3 separate regions of the Homo sapiens genome follow, and regions 2 and 3 are each linked to region 1. Evidence: promoter capture Hi-C in 16 types of primary human blood cells and fetal thymus (Javierre and others, 2016). All regions are on one chromosome and are shown on one strand. The core of a region is centred on a gene start or on the middle of the fragment in contact, and the rest is flanking DNA. Distances in the headings are between cores, read along the strand shown. Region 1 holds the start of RORB (RAR related orphan receptor B). Region 2 has its middle 44 kb from the start of ANXA1. Region 3 overlaps LOC101927281 (a long non-coding RNA gene).

Evidence for each region. The method cuts DNA at HindIII sites, captures the fragments that hold promoters and counts their contacts. A CHiCAGO score of 5 or more calls a contact.
Region 2: a contact is called between a fragment that was not itself captured here and the fragment with the promoter of RORB in region 1, in 1 of 17 cell types (monocytes). The highest score is 5.0, in monocytes.
Region 3: a fragment that was not itself captured here is called in contact with the fragment with the promoter of RORB in region 1 in 3 of 17 cell types (megakaryocytes, fetal thymus and total B cells); the score reaches 7.1 in megakaryocytes.

Annotation. Positions count from the first base shown.
Region 1 is chr9:74,496,038-74,498,646 of GRCh38, reverse strand. RORB (RAR related orphan receptor B) reads right to left here and starts at 1,312. Exons shown (of 10, transcript NM_006914.4): 1 at 664-1,312. The coding sequence starts at 670. It overlaps RORB-AS1 (RORB antisense RNA 1), which reads left to right and starts at 94. Exons shown (of 5, transcript NR_125791.1): 1 at 94-405. RefSeq lists silencers at 1,080-1,374, 1,279-1,468, 1,464-1,676. The HindIII fragment of the contact is 5,400 bases long and covers 1-2,609 here.
Region 2 is chr9:73,194,272-73,196,880 of GRCh38, reverse strand. No RefSeq gene overlaps it. Among named protein-coding and RNA genes, the nearest start is that of ANXA1, 44 kb to the right of the region's middle. The HindIII fragment of the contact is 1,719 bases long and covers 440-2,158 here.
Region 3 is chr9:73,261,160-73,263,768 of GRCh38, reverse strand. The region is part of intron 1 of LOC101927281 (a long non-coding RNA gene); the gene reads right to left. Among named protein-coding and RNA genes, the nearest start is that of ANXA1, 110 kb to the right of the region's middle. The HindIII fragment of the contact is 1,010 bases long and covers 800-1,809 here.

The sequences.
Region 1 (2,609 bases), core at 63-2,562:
GCCGCGCGGGCTCGGGCACGAGGACCTGGCCAGGGCGCAGCGCCGGCACGAAGGCGCGCGCCGCAGAACTGTTTCCTCAGCCGCGTGCCGGGGAACTAACTGTTTCCTCAGCCGCGTCCAGCCTCGCAGCACTGCTCTTCTGCTTGCTACTCCAGCGAAGGGACATGCCTGCTGGCCAGGACGCTTAGTGGGCCTCGTAACCTGGCGAGTGTGTGCCCGCGCGTGTCCACCCTGCCCCCGGCCGGTGCGCCCCGCGCGCCCAAACCCGGCCGGCGACCACTGCGCGCCGGGCGCTTCCAAACTGCTCCTGTCCAGAGGCATCCCTCTTTCGGCTTTCTCCATCCCGCGTCCGCTTCCGCACCCGAGAGCGACAAGCAAAAAAGATTCAGTGCAACTCAAGGACTGGTAAGAACCAACTAGCCTGTCTCCCCTCTCCAAAAAAGCGCCCTCCCGCGTCCCTCCAGAACTCCCGAAAGACATCAACACCTTCCCGCAACTTTCTACGCCCAGGCCATTTGCAGCCCCACCTGCGAGAGCGAATTCGGGGAACTGCGCCTGGGCAACCTCTTTCCCTTTCTGCTGGGTGCCCTCCCCTCCCCCATCTCCCCGTCTGGCTGGAGTTGGCCGGACTCGGGGAGCCTCGGTGCCCGCAGACTCGCTTACCTCGCATGGTGTGGCCGCTCTCCCGCTCCGCGTAGTCATGAAGCTGCTCCCAGCCCGAACCCCGGAGAGCCCAAAAATCCCGCTCAGCACGAGTGAAGAAGGTGGTCGGCGAAGAGCTGCTCTGCCGAGAAAACCATCCCTTTAGGCGGACGCCGTGGCTGCAGGGTGACGTTTGCCGCCGCCGCCGCTATGTTAACAGTTTTGATGTTGGTGGTGACTGTTTTGATGATTGTTTGTTTGTTTGTTTGTTTTCAGGAAGGGTGAAAAAAAAATGTTCTGGCTGTCTGGTGCCTGGGTTTTGTTTTGGTTTTGTTTTTCTTTTTCTTTCTCTCCAATGTGCTTGCTTTTTAAAAAATGCCACCGCCTCCGGCTCAGAAGATTTCTTTTGTGATCACTTGGACTGAGGAGGAGGAGGAAGGGCAGCAGCAGGAGGAGGAGTTGGTGGTGGTTTTGTTAGTTACAAAGAAGAGGGAGAAGGAACAAGGGGGAAAAAAGGAAACAGAAAGAAAAGAAAGAAAGGCGGTGTGGATGGCAGAGCATGTGCGTTTTCACATGACATCTGTGCCTGTTAGCGGATCCACAATGTGAATTTTCACTGTTCAGTTACAGGGAGGAAGGGAGCAGCGAGAGAGAAAGAGAGGGGAGAGATGGAGAGAGAGCGCTGAGAGGGGCTTATACGCGAGGGCGGGCTTGGCCGCGACTTCCAGGCCCCGCCTGCTGTCAGCGCAGCCGCCAATCAGAGCCCAGCAGCGCCTGGAGAGGCTGGGACCGCGGGGAGGGGACGTGGTGGAGGCGGGGGGTGGGGCGGGGGCTGGGGACCAGGGAGTCCGAGGTGGCCGGGGCTGCGACGGGGAATTCGAGACTGTCCGAACTGGGCAGAGAAGAAGGGCCGACCGGGAGAGTCGGGCAGATCCGCAGGTGACAGGCACTTCCGACTCCAGCAGAGAAGGGGACACTGATCACGGAAAACCTTCGGAGGCAAGAGACGCGGGGCTCCCCGGGTTTCACGTTCGGTCCCTGTCTCGCAACCCCCGCGGGCCCGGCAGAGTTAGTTTTGAATTTATGGCAGCGCTTTGCCGAGCGCTATTTGGGTAAACTTCGGTCTCCGGCGGGGGTTTCCGTGGGCAGGTGGTTTGGGTGTTGGTGGTAGAATAATGCAAACCCACTTTCATCACTTTTAGCACAACTAAAATGCAGTCCCATGGAAGTAGCTGTCCCCTTCCTTTAAAAACGTCCGTCAGATGCTCCCTGACCCTCTTCTAAAAAAAAAAAAAAAAGAAAGAAAGAAAGAAAAAAACGTGTATATGTTCTTTTGTCTGGGAAATTGATTTTTATTAGCATTTGGAGACTCCCCTGGCGATGGACTACAGGACTGAAGGAGAACAGCTCAAATTGGCGGTGTAGCCACCTTACTAATTCAAGAGAAATGGCTGTTGCTAGAAGGTGTGATTGCAGGGTGCTCTTTAGAAAGGTTTTAGAAGGAAGACATTGTTAACTTTAGTTAGAGGCGATTGGTAACTGAACATAGATAAACTTACTTGTATTCCTTAGGTGAAAATTGTCATCTATGACCATTTATTTGTATTTTGATAAAAATCTAATACATATATCCAAACTGTTCCTTTGCAAGTTTTTCCAACTCAGTTGACAAAATAAGCATATAGATGATTACATCTACTTCCTTCCCAATAGTAGGGAACTTCTTAAATACTTGAGTTAATTGAACACCCTAAAAGATTGGGAGGTGAAAATATTTGCCTCATTCACTCAGTCTTGAGGCTGGGAGATGTCTACTCATTAGCATACCTGTTGGCACAGCAGGCCTCATCATCATTTAAGTATCCAAATAATTTGATTTTTGACTGGTATTTATTCATGATATGTCATGTAACACAAAGTACAATGTAGAATTGGCAGTTATTTAGTTAATTAGGTCGCTCTACACT
Region 2 (2,609 bases), core at 50-2,549, 1.3 Mb after region 1:
GAATTATATATTTTAGATTCTACTGTAAAGTAAGCAAGCAAATTAGATAGCAGTATTGTGTCAATGTAAATTTCCTGATTTTGATAATTTTACTATGATTTTGTAAGAAAACATGGTGTTTTCAGAAAACACACGTTTAACTATTCAGTGGCACAGAGCCATCATGCCTAAAAGTTACTTTTCAATAGGTCAAAAATGTGTGTGTGCGTGTATGTTGTGTGTGTGTATGTGTGTGTGTGTGTGGAAAAAGGACAGAAAAGGAGTAAAATATTAAAATTTGAGGATCTGTGTAAAAAGTATATCAGAATTCTTTGTTCTATTTTTACAACATTTCTGTAAGTCTGAAATTCTTCAAAATAAAAAAAAAAATACAAACAGTGTTTGAAAAATCATACTGAGCATGGTTCCTGGCACATAAATTCTTCATGAGTGTCAAGCTTAGATTCATAGTTTTCACTGAAATTATGAATTCACCACTTACGTTTTAGTTCTTACATTGCTATAAAGAAATACCTGCAACTAGGTAATTTTTAAAGAAAAGAGGTTTAATTGGTTTACGCAGTTCCACAGGCTGTACAGGAAGCATGGCACTGGCATCTGCTTAGTGTCTGGAGAGGATTCGGGAAACTTACAATGATGACAGAAGGCGAAGGAGAAACAGGCACGTCTTACGTGGCAGGAGCAAGAGGGAGTGAAGGAGGAGGTGCCACACACTTCTAAATGACCAGATCTCACGAGAACGCACACACTGTCATGAGGATGGTACCAACAGGATGGTGCTAAACCATTCATGAGAAATCATCCCCATGATCCAATCACCTCCCACCAGGCCCTGCCTCCAACACTGGGGATTACAATTTGACAAGCGATTTGGTGGGGATACAGATCCAAACAATATCAACTTGATATGACAAAACAAAGTAAATAAATCTCTGCCATTCAACTTTTAATTCACAAGGTAAATTTTTAATTCACAAAGTAAAAAGAAAAATATCTGTGTGTTATATTTAGGTTAGAAAAGACACTTCACAATGATGCTTATAAACCTTCAGTTTTTTAGTTTTTTAAAAAACTGACCTGAATACAGAGTTTTCCTTCCCTTCTTCTTACATACCCAAGAAGAATAAATTATTCACAATGATAAAGGCAAGAAAATGTACCATCAACCAGCCACTTAAATGTTGAATTTCTATAATATGGAAAGCTGATAAAGTCCTGCTGATGGATAAATTAGAATTTAGAAAACAACACGAAACATGTGCTTGAGAAGGCAGAAAAAAAAGGTGAGAGCAGGGGTTACTGTCAGAGTAATAAGTAAAAGGCTGAACACAGAATGCATTAGCCTCCATGTTTGCAGCTGGCGGAGATATATACACCCAAAAAATGGGATGGAAGGAGAAGGTGGACTTATAGATGTCTATTCAGCCATAGAAGGGAAGGCTAAGAGATTGCAAAGCTGCTGTCCAGGGGCCTTGATGTTATTAAGCCTATTGGTCAACCCTGCAACCATGCACTTCTAGATCTCTTGCTATGAATAGCAAATAAATTCTTACCCACATAAGCCATAATGATAATCAAGTTTTCTTTTATCTGGAACCAAAAATATTCCAGAACTGACCCAACATTTAGATGTGTAAATGCAATTATCAGAAAAACTCAAAATAACTATGTAATTAACAAATAGTAGTAGGAGTAAGTAGGGCCAGAAAGATTTTGTAAGAAAGATACTATCTTCATCTTTTGCAATAGGGCTGTTAATATATATTTTTAAAAGTTAATGAATTAAGAAAGAAATTTACATGTTTGTAGTAAGAATTACTGAATTGAGCTACCTATAAAAGTAAAAATACGGATTTTTCAAATGGATTTACCTGGGACCATGGTACTTTCTCAGGTAATGGAAAAATGAATTTAAAAAAATGACATATGCATTTCAAATAAAATAATACAAATGATATATGTTGAGACTATGAGATGAGGGAAGATATAGAATATGGTATCTGATATCATTTTCTTAATTTAGTAACATGTTTATATTTATTTGTACATATATTTCCTTATGGCATTTATAAAGAAATACATAAAATTATTGAAAATATTTTCTAGTATGTGTTTTGCAATTTTTTCTCAAGAATAGACAAAAGAAAATCAAAAAGCTTTTTTCTTCACACAGCTGACAAAGAATAAAATGTTCACAATGGAAAGAAAATATATGGTCTTTGGGAGCAGATTTTTTAAATCCCTGGAAAGCAGTAACTAAATAATTGTCTGATTTCATATGCTATTAATAGGTGATTTTTCCCATCTGCCTTACATTTCCATTTGCAGTTATCTCTTTTCATGTCTTCTCATGGTGTCAGGTTCACACCCTCAATTTGATGTTAGTGATTTTAAACAATTGAAAATCACTCTTGAGGGTGTGACCTGGCTTTGGACAATCTGCAATAAATCCAAGAGTCACAGCACCAGGAGACAAGCAGCGAAGAGTATTGTATTTAAAAGCAAGAATCTTTAAAAAAAGAACCAAATGGAAATTTCAAAGATGTCAAATATTGCAATGAAAAATTCACTGGATCTCTTAATAAAAGGAAATATTAGTGGTCTTGAAA
Region 3 (2,609 bases), core at 55-2,554, 1.2 Mb after region 1:
ATAAAGTTTATATTTTACTTAAAAAACAAAGTAAACATTAGGAAGACACATTGTTTCTCATCTCTACTGTTTTTTATTTAAACCCTTGATAACATCTTTATTTTCTTCCTGTCTTATCTTTTAACATTTATATTGTACAAACTTAATTCATGGTTTGGCATCCAAGTTCAAGGTCAGGTCTACTTTTGATGTATTATTTATCATTCCACATATGTTGTTTATTCCATTTTCTTAACGACTATAACCCTATTTTATGATGAAATTTGGTACTCAATCAAAAAAATTGTTCTATATACTTTAATTGTTTTGTTATAACTAGTAAGTAAACTCTGAGTATTTTACTTTTTTGGTATCTACCTCTACAGTACATGTGTTGTTTAGCCTTGTGACTGATAGCTAAACAGTACTAAATGCATAATTGTGTATGTATTTTATATACAAAATTAAAAAAATAATAACAGCTTTTAAAAATATCAATTTAGAGAACAGAAGAGAGCTTTTTTTCCCAATATATCCCACAATATTTGGAGAAGGCATCTGCTAAAGCACAGGATTGGCCTGCAATAAATTCTTAATGCCTGTTTATTGATTTTGATTGATATTTAGAGTCTGTCACAGCAGCCAGACATCTCCATGATGTTCTGCCTATATAACCTCAGAGGGTCACTTTGCTGAATGCCTGAAGAAGTTATTCCCAGGACACAGCACTCCAGATAAAATCTTTAGTATGTTAGCATCACTTTTAAAATTTCAAATCATGAAAGTAAAATAAGTTTAAAAAAACATAAACAAATAAGCTTAATAATTCACCTCCACAACACGCTACTTTTTAATTTGGGAAAACATTTATTTTGCACGGTGTTTCAGTTAAATGAGTGGATGAGAGAGAGAAAAATTGGATGCATTTTAGCTTGTAGCTTACATTTAAGAAAATCCTTAGACAATAATCTATTTAGGTAATAGATTAGTCAATAATCTAGTAGGTATTGCATACTATATGTAATGTGGTAAATACTTGACTATTCACATTAATGGAAATGATTAAAGGCAGACCATTAGAATCAGTTTACTTTGGTTTGGAGTGTATGTTGATTCATGTGTTCAAGTTTCTCAACCTCAGCACTATTGACATTTGGACTAGATATTCTTCCTTGTGGGAGGCTGTCTGTTACATGGTAGGATGTTTAGCAGCATCCCTGGTGTCTACCCACTAAATGCCAGTAGCATATACCTTAGATGTGACAACGAAAAAGGCTTCCAAACGTTGCCCAGTATTTCCTAGAAGGGATTTGGGGAACAGATCACCTCTGGCTGAGAACCACTGATATATATGAATATAACTTTGTTTTGTTTTATAATTTAAATATTTACATTTCCCTTCAAAGGATAAAGTCATTCTGAAGACCTGACTGACACAAGTTGACTATTTTTCATACCTTACTAATGTAACCCAAATAAAACTGGATTGTTTAGATGGTTACAAATTAAACAAACAAATTCCATTTCCCACAAACCTTGTAAAGAATCGTAAACATTTACTGAAGGGGTTTAAAGGACACTAATTAAAGTTTCCTGAAAGGCTTTTAGGATGAATAATGATGTTAATAAGGTAGATTTTGAGATATTTGTCTCTTGATTGGCTGAGTTCTATTTAGAAATTCTGAAGAACCATGTTGTTCTCTCTACATACTGAAAGTTAGCCTCTCCCGGCTTCAAGATCCTAACACAGTTGCATAATGCGAGTATAACTCCAAAATGGTTATAGGTTCTAGCTACGGGAAAGACTAAAATTATTAGCCATTGCAAGCTTAATAAAGTAAATGTACTTGAAATTTGTTCTTACGAGAAGACACCGTTCTGCATCAAGTCATTTACTCTACATATCTCCCAGTTACAATTCCATCTAAATGCATTCAACATGCTGTTTTCTACAACTTAAAAATGGTAACCCACCAATATTTTTAAAATAAAGGCCCAATTGTTAATTTAATATGCCTTCTGAGCTTTAATATCTTTCTAATTGAACAATTTAAGGTTTGGGCTCTCATTGTAATTCTTTATATGAAGTGCAAGGAGATTTTAGACCTCACTCTTGAAGTATTGATTATTATTGAACTCTTTTTAATCTCATTGAAAAAACTGCTCTTTTCAGGACTCTTCAGAGCTTTGATTAACTTTACATCTGCCTTTGATTCTATGGATATGTTTTTTAAGCTCTGTGAGTTTAAGATAAGTCTCCAATTATTAATATGCTTGCAAAATCTACATCCACGGTATCATTGCCAGAATCAAGCAAGACAGCAATTTAAATGCATAAGAATAAAATGAGTTTTGGACCTTCTTTTTATTTTTATCTAGATATTTTTATATTCTTTTTAAAGAAATTGGATCCTTGCCTACTTGCAACAGTAAAGAGGAAAATAATTACCCTTCTCTATAAGGGTCATCTGGATCAAGATAGACCTTAGAAGAATTATAAAGTCAATAGTTCCTATGAAGAAGAGGCCATTAACATTAATTGTGATGGCATAGGTACCTATTATTTTAGTAGGGCTAAATAATTCTCTAATATATAAGTGGCTAATATTAACTAATTCCATGCATCAGGG